2 separate regions of the Homo sapiens genome follow, and region 2 is linked to region 1. Evidence: promoter capture Hi-C in 16 types of primary human blood cells and fetal thymus (Javierre and others, 2016). All regions are on one chromosome and are shown on one strand. The core of a region is centred on a gene start or on the middle of the fragment in contact, and the rest is flanking DNA. Distances in the headings are between cores, read along the strand shown. Region 1 holds the start of TSG101 (tumor susceptibility 101). Region 2 has its middle 28 kb from the start of TMEM86A.

The links. Contacts are between HindIII fragments. The CHiCAGO score rates a contact against its expected background, and 5 or more counts as called.
Region 2: a contact is called between a fragment that was not itself captured here and the fragment with the promoter of TSG101 in region 1, in 1 of 17 cell types (naive CD4 T cells). The highest score is 6.5, in naive CD4 T cells.

What each region holds. Positions count from the first base shown.
Region 1 is chr11:18,524,669-18,528,478 of GRCh38, forward strand. It overlaps TSG101 (tumor susceptibility 101), which reads right to left and starts at 2,274. Exons shown (of 10, transcript NM_006292.4): 1 at 2,107-2,274. The coding sequence starts at 2,148. RefSeq lists an enhancer at 2,434-2,543. The HindIII fragment of the contact is 722 bases long and covers 2,018-2,739 here.
Region 2 is chr11:18,668,434-18,672,311 of GRCh38, forward strand. No RefSeq gene overlaps it. Among named protein-coding and RNA genes, the nearest start is that of TMEM86A, 28 kb to the right of the region's middle. RefSeq lists an enhancer at 23-524. The HindIII fragment of the contact is 8,479 bases long and covers 1-3,878 here.

The DNA of each region.
Region 1 (3,810 bases), core at 1,024-3,523:
GGCAGGTAGGATGCCCTCTCCCACCTCTTCCCTACCTCTGTTTTTGTTTCTAAAGTAATCACAGGTTGGGTGGAGGGGAAGGCAGGTAGAGGTATAAAATATCTTCTGAACATGCCTTGCCTTTGTCTTTGATGGCAGGTTTCTCTAGGGAAGCTTAGGAAACTTAATTAGGGTATAAAAAATAAGCTAATATTTGAATATTCTTGCTCTTTATATGAATATACATACATTAAGGAATAAATCTTTTTTTTTTTTTTTTTGAGATGGAGTCTTGCTCAGCCACCCAGGCTGGAGTGCAGTGGCCTGATCTCGACTCACTGCAACCACCGTCTCCCAGGTTCAAGCGATTCTCCCATCTCAGCCTCCCGAGTAGGCTGGGATTACAGGCACCCGCCATCATGCCCGGCTAATTTTTGTATTTTAGGAGACGGGGTTTCACCATGTTGATCAGGCTGGTCTTGAACTCGTGACCTCAGGTGATCCACCCGCCTTGGCCTCCCAAAGTGCTAGGATTACAGGCGTAAGCCACTGCGCCCAGCCCAAGGACTAAATCTTAATGACTATGCTATCAATTTAAAGATCAAAAATGTCATGGAGGCCAGGTGTGGTGGCTCACGCCTGTATTCCCATCATTTTGGGAAGCCAAAGCGGTGGATCACTGAGGTCTGGAGTTTAAGACCAGCCTGGCCAACATGGTGAAATCCCGTCTCTACTAAAAATACAACAATCAGCTGTGTGAAGTGGTGGGCACCTGTAATCCCCAGCTACTTGGGAGGCTAAGGCAGGAGAATCGCTTGAACCTGGGAGGCGGAGATTGCAGTGAGCCAAGATCGTGCCACTGCACTCCAGCCTGGGTGACAGAGCAAGACTCTAAAAAAAAAAAAAAAAAAAAAAGAGTCATGGAACAGATACTCTTCAGTTACATACTATGTAAAACAATATACCGTTTTTTTCAAAAAGTGATATATAAAAGTTACAACATGGATCTTTACCTGGGTCACAATCTTCTATGGCTTCCCATATGTCTTCTATAACTAAGGATAACAAGTTTATCAAAACAAAACCAAGAAGCCTAAAATATACGATTACACAACCAATATATGCTTTATTTTGAAAGCTGTCATTTTCTCCTTAGAGATTATTTGGTCTTCAATCAAGAACTATGGGGGCGATTTAACTGGAAAAAGTCTGTTTTTAAAAAAGTTTTACACATAATAGTGTGTTTTATTAAAAATTGAAACCGCTTAAACCGCTGATTGCTACCATTCTTGCTTTGACAAAACTATCCCAAGCTAACACGTTGAACTGGTCAAGACTCAACTCTCAATCATTTTACATAGTTTTGGAAAATTACAACAAAACATAACAAAAGCCATTCCACTCTGGTGTGAGGTGCCACGTTTGAAGTAATTATATAAATAAATCATGGCTTTAAAATACAAAATGCTTAACTGCTTTTTTAAAAATTGAAAAAAAAAACACTAGTCTTGAGCCGTGAAGATCATAAATTAAGCTCAAAGCAAATAAATACGCGTTATAAGAAGCATACACTTAAAAGTAGTTACTCTTAGAAAATCCCTGAAATGGTAATGGTATGTATTTCACCTGGGGCAGTAAGGGACTGGTATTTTCGCTTCTTTTCTGGAGAATACAAAACTGAAAAGGCCACACTCTCTGCGGGTCGGCAAAAGAAAGGCTAAGACTGGAGGATCCCTAGATTGGGACAGGAGTAGAGGATTGCCTCAGATCTACAACTAAGTATGATCCCTTGTTTGTGTTTATAAAAACAAACGAAAAACTACACTGCCCCACAGACAGCTCCAAACTCAGTGGAAGAGAGGAGGGCGGGTGGGCGGCAGGTGTCAGGTAGCCTCCGCTCCACGCCTTTGTTGACTGTCGCCGTCCCCCACCCTCCCAGCTCCCGTACGGGGATTCCCGCACCAGGCGACAGGCGCCTCGGGGCGGGGTTCTGAGGAGGTCGCTAAGGACTGCACCGGGGCTTCCGGCCCGTCTGGGAAGCTTGCTTGGCTGGGCCGGGACGGACTCGACAGGGCGCGGAAGGGAGCGGTGGGCGCGCCCTGGGAGGCGAGCGCGTCGCAGCCTCACCTTGGACACCATTTTCTTGAGCTGGCTCTCCGACACCGCCATGACGGCCGCCTGGCGACTCCCTTCCCCGCAGGCAGAGGGTCAGCCGCTGCTGGGCTGCCCCAGACCGTCCCACACAATCGCACACCCCCAACCCGGCCTCAAACAACAGGAAGTCGGCACCACTACACCACTTCCGCTTCCACTACGTCACTTCCGGGCCGCCGTCCTGCGGGCAAGGGTGGACACCGTGTGGGATTGAGAGGGGCCTGGTGGGGTGGGTTCCAACCAACCCGCCCCTCGAGTGCCGGAATCAGCAGGACGAATCGGGTCCCAAAGATGTGGGCAAGACTGTTCCGAGGGTCGAAACTCTGGTTCAGGATAAGATTAGCAGGTATTTCACAGAGTCGACTTAAGGAAGCTAGTGCCGGAGAGGGAAGAAGTACGAAGGGCTTGCCAGTGAGCCTTAATGACTGATTGATCAAGTGGGAGGGCACTGCACTGGCGGTCAGAGAACTGTTCTGTCACTGACTTGCTCTTGTGATAATGGTAGGCTAGTGCATTTCTAGCTCAGGCGCAAATTTCTCCCGACTCTAAAGTCATACACTTGCCTTAGATGATGCCCAGTGGTCCTCTAATTAATGATTTTTTTTAAGCTTAAAGACCTTCATACTATACGTTGGCAAGGGTAAAGTGTAGAGCCTTTGTTTCACAAGAAGCCAGATAGTAATTTCTTCTCCAGGAAATCATTCCGTAAGTCAGAATTTCTCCTCTGTACCCACCCATAAATGATAATACAGGCCGTATTTTACCTGGTGCTGTATTTGTGTACCTGTCCGCTGTCAAAATCCAAGCCCTTGAAGGCAGGCTTCCTTCAGATCTTCATTGCCTTGCACAATGCAAGGGTAGGTACTTCCATCTTAATTGAATTTTTACTTCCCATAAAAATTCTTCATGGTGACTTACATTAGTCATCATTACACATCACCGTCAGTTTTGTAAGCACAGTGTCATTCAAGGTATTGTAAAATTTTGAGTTTGATGATGTGTGACAGTTTCAATTATTTTAGTACAGCCCTAATGAGAACAAGGCCGTAGTATTGATTCCCTTCAAAGTTGGCGTCTAAGTGAAGGTCACATTCACAAGGAGGGCCTAACTGAAAGCATGTGGAAGCATCATTATAAACTGTTGCTAACACGCACAAATAAAGGCTATTAATAGGTATTGTTTTTCTTTTTCTTTTTCTTTTTTTTTTTTTTTTGAGTCACTCTCACTCCATCGCCCAGGCTGGAGTGCAGTAGCACCATCTCGGCTCACTGCAACCTCCGCCTCTGTTTTTCAGCTCCTTAGTTAAGCATACAGCTCCAGTCAAACCAAACTAGAGGTCTGTCTGTCCTTCCATTTTACTTGCTGTTTTATGTCTTTTAAAAGCAAGAAGGTTTTCAAACTGTTCTTAAAGCCACGGCTTAACCAGGAGTCCCTTTAATTAGAGCAACTGTACCTTTGTGAGTTGGAGGAATGCCAGGTAATATATATTATTTATATATTTTATAAATGCAACATTTATAAATATTAAAATAAATTTTACATATATATATATATATATATATATATATATATATATTTTTTTTTTTTTTTTTTTTTTTTTTTTTTGAGACAGAGTTTTGCTCTTGCTTCCCAGGCTGGAGTGCGATAGTGTGATCTTGGCTCACTGCAACCTCTGC
Region 2 (3,878 bases), core at 199-2,698, 140 kb after region 1:
TATGTCACAACTAAAAAGGTACTTGCTTGTTTGAAATTCAAACTTAACGGGAGATCCTGCATTCTTATTAACTAAACCTGGCAATCCTAAAAACTTAACGGGAGGTCCTGCATTCTTATTAACTACACCTGGCAATCCCACCTAGGAATCAAGGGCATGATTCCAGCAGGAAATTTATCCTCAGGGAGAGGCAGGCAGTAGTTGCGTCTGTGAGGCCTGTGGTAAGACTAACCCCTGTCACTAGGCAGCAGTAGAGAACCGAGCAGAGCAGGGGGAGGGGCTGATAGTGGGGAGAGAAGAGCGGACGGGTGTGGGACTTTGGGGCCGCTCTAGGTCCTCATGCAGAATCTCAAATCAAATTAGCAAAAGACAGGAACAGGCAGCTCACAGACAAACAGCTTATACATGGCTAATAAACAAGAAAAGACGGGCTGGGCGCAGTGGCTCACGCCTGTAATCCCAGCACGTTGGGAGGCTCCGGCAGGCGGATCACCTGAGGTCAGGAGTTCGAGACCAGCGTGGCCAACACGGTGAAACCCCATCTCTACTAAAAATACAAAAAATTAGCTGGGCGTGGTGGTGGGCACATGTAATCCCAGCTACTCAAGAGCCTGAGGCAGGGGAATCACTTGAACCCGGGACGCGGAGGTTTCAGTGGGCCAAGATCGTGCCATTGCTCTCCAGCCTGGAGGACAAAAGTGAAACTCTGCCTCAGAAAAAAAGAAACAAAGAAAAAAAAGAAAAAGAAAAAAATGCATAGTCCTACTCATAATTGAATTAGTCAACCTAAAATGAGTTCTTTTCCATCTCTCAGATTGGCAAAAATTTAAATATGAAAAAGATTACTAATACTGTGTTGTGGAAGTGTGAGAAAATACTATGTAGAGCAGAGACTGGTCACAGAAATTCAGGGACTGGAGTTTTTAAGGTTAATTTGGTGGGTAGAGTCTCAGGAAGTGGGGAATGCTAATTGGTCAGGTTGGAGATGAAATCATAGGGAGCTGAAGCTGTCCTCTTGCGCTGAGTCAGTTCCTGGGTGGGGGCCACAAGACCAGATGAGCCAGTTTATTGATCTGGGTGGTGTCAGCTGATCCATCGAGTACAGGATCTGCAAACTATCTCAAGCACTGATCTTAGGTTTTACTGTAACCTAAGATGTTATCCCCGGGAGCAATTTGGGGAGGTTTAGAATATTGCAGTCTCCAGCTGCATCTCTCAGACTGGCAAAAATTAAAATATCAAAAAAGATTACTAGTACTCTGTTGTGAAAGTGTGAGAAAATACTATGTGAGTAGAGACTGGTGCATCCTCTTTGGATTAATATCAAAAGAAGAGATGCACATAGCCTTTAATCAATGACGTAACTCCCAGGGATTTATCAGACAGATTTACTCTCCCTTAGATGTGGAGACATAAGAGGTTGTAAGTGCAACCTGGAGCTGGGTTGCTAGTCCATAAAGCACCTTGGATATCAATGTCGACTCCGCCAGCTGTGATGTCACTTGACCAATGGGAGGAGAGAGGGGAAGCGCTGGCTTAGGGAGCTGAATGTTGTCCACTCCCTCTCCCTGCCCTCTACAGCTTTTTCCCCCCAGCTGTGGCTGCTCTGGGAAGCAGAAGTAAATATTGATTTTTAGAACCATCTAGACCTGATGTCAAATCTGGTTCTGTCACTTACTTGCTGTGTGACCTTGTCCTAGCAAGTTCACCTCTCATTTTATTTTATTTTATTTTATTTTGATATGGAGTCTCGCTCTGTCGCCCAGGCTGGGTGCAGTGGCGCAATCTCCGCTCACTGCAAGCTCCGCCTCCCGGGTTCACGCCATTCTCCTGCCTCAGCCTCCCAAGTAGCTGGGACTACAGGCGCCTGCCACCACGCCCGGCTAATTTTTTGTATTTTTTGTAGAGACGGGGTTTTGCCATGTTGTCCAGGCTGGTCTCAAACTCCTAACCTCAGGTGATCCACCCACCTCGGCCTCCCAAAGTTCTGGGGTAACAGGCGTGAGCCATCACATCTGGCCTCACCTCTCCTTTTCATTCATTTGATGATACATGTATTCAAAAATATTTATTGAGAATTTACTACTAGGCACTGCAATTTTGTGGTGAACAAGACAAAGTCTCTTTATCTCTTAGAACTTTCAGGCATGCAGGGTTGTTGGGGAGACACAATAAACAAGAAAACTAATAAATGGTGTAATATGGAAATGGTAGTAGATACTAAAAAGACAATAAGATAAGATGGTTGGGTATGGTGGCTCACGCCTGTAACCCCAACCAAGGCAGGAGGATCTCTTGAGCCCAGGAGTTTGAGACCAGCCTGGGAAACATAGTGAGACCTTGTCTCTACTATAAACAAAAAATTAGCTGGTGTGGTGGTGTGCACCTGTGGTCCCAGCTACTTGGGAGGCTGAGGCAGGAGGTATCACCTCAGCCCGAGAGGTGGAAGCTGCAGTGAGCCGTGATGGTGTCACTGCATTCCTGCCTGGGCAACAGAGTGAGACCCTGTCTCAAAACAAAAAACAAACAAAAACAATAAAATAAGATAAAATGATACAGTGACCAGGGATGTTGCTTATATGTAATAGGAGATGACAATTCTGTTTCACAGGGTTGACATCAAAATTACATAAGATACTACATATGAAGCACTTAGCATTGTGCCCGAGACAGGGTATTAATTATGGTAACAATTACTGAATGTTTGTAATGTGCTAGACACTGTTCCAAGTACTATGGGTAGACTAACTCATGTAATGACCTTGTTTTCCAGATAAGGAAACTGAAGCACAGGTAGGCTGAATTACTTGCCTAAAGTCAGGGAATTAGCAGAGGATAGAACTGTGACATTCTGGCCTCAGAGCCTACAGTTTTAACTGTTTTATTAAATATTAGTGTCTGTCTGTCTTTCATATCTTGATTAAAGGGGGCTGGAGGGCCCCGAGGAGGGCATGCTCAAATCTGTAGGAGGTGTGGGGGTTGGAGGCCAGGTGGAACCTAAGGCAGCTTGTGGAGCAAATGCAAGGGCACTGGAAGGTGAGTCACCATGTAACCTGGTGATGCTACTATATGACAAGAAAGTGAGAATTGAGGATAATGGAGTTATGAGATAATGGAATAAAGAAGGTGTCTTACTTGGCTCAGGCTCTGGCTGCGATAACAAAATATAGTTGACCCTTGAACAACATGAGTTTAAACTGTGCAGGTCCACTTATATATGGGATTTTTCCCCCATAAATACACTGAAAAATTTTTTTGAGATTTGCGACTATTTAAACATACAGATCAGCCAGGCATGGTGGCTCATGCCTGTAATGCCAGCACTTTGGGAGGCCGAGGCGGGTGGATCACCTGGCATTAGGAGTTTGAGACCAGCTTGGCCAACATGGTGAAACCCCATCTCTACTAAAAATACAAAAATTATCCAGGTGTGGTGGCGCATGCCTATAGTCTCAGCTACTTAGGAGGCTGAGGCAGAAGAATTGCTTGAACCCAGGAGGCAGAGGTTGCAGTGAGCCAAGATTGCGCCACTGCACTCCAGACTGGGTGACAGAGTGAGACTCCATCTCAAAAATAAAAATAAAAAAATAAAAATAAAATAAAAATACAGATGAACCATGTAGCCTGGAAATAAATATAAAAAATAAGAAAAAGTTAGGTATGTCATGAATACATAAAATACATGTAGATATTAGTCTATTTTATCACTTACTACCATAAAATACACACAAATCTATTATAAAAAGTTAAAGTTCATAAAAACATATACACACATAGACAGCACATGGCGCCATTTGAAGTCAAGACAAACGTATGTAAATGTAAAGATGCAGTATTAAATCATAATTGTATGCAATAACAGTAGGATATATTATACT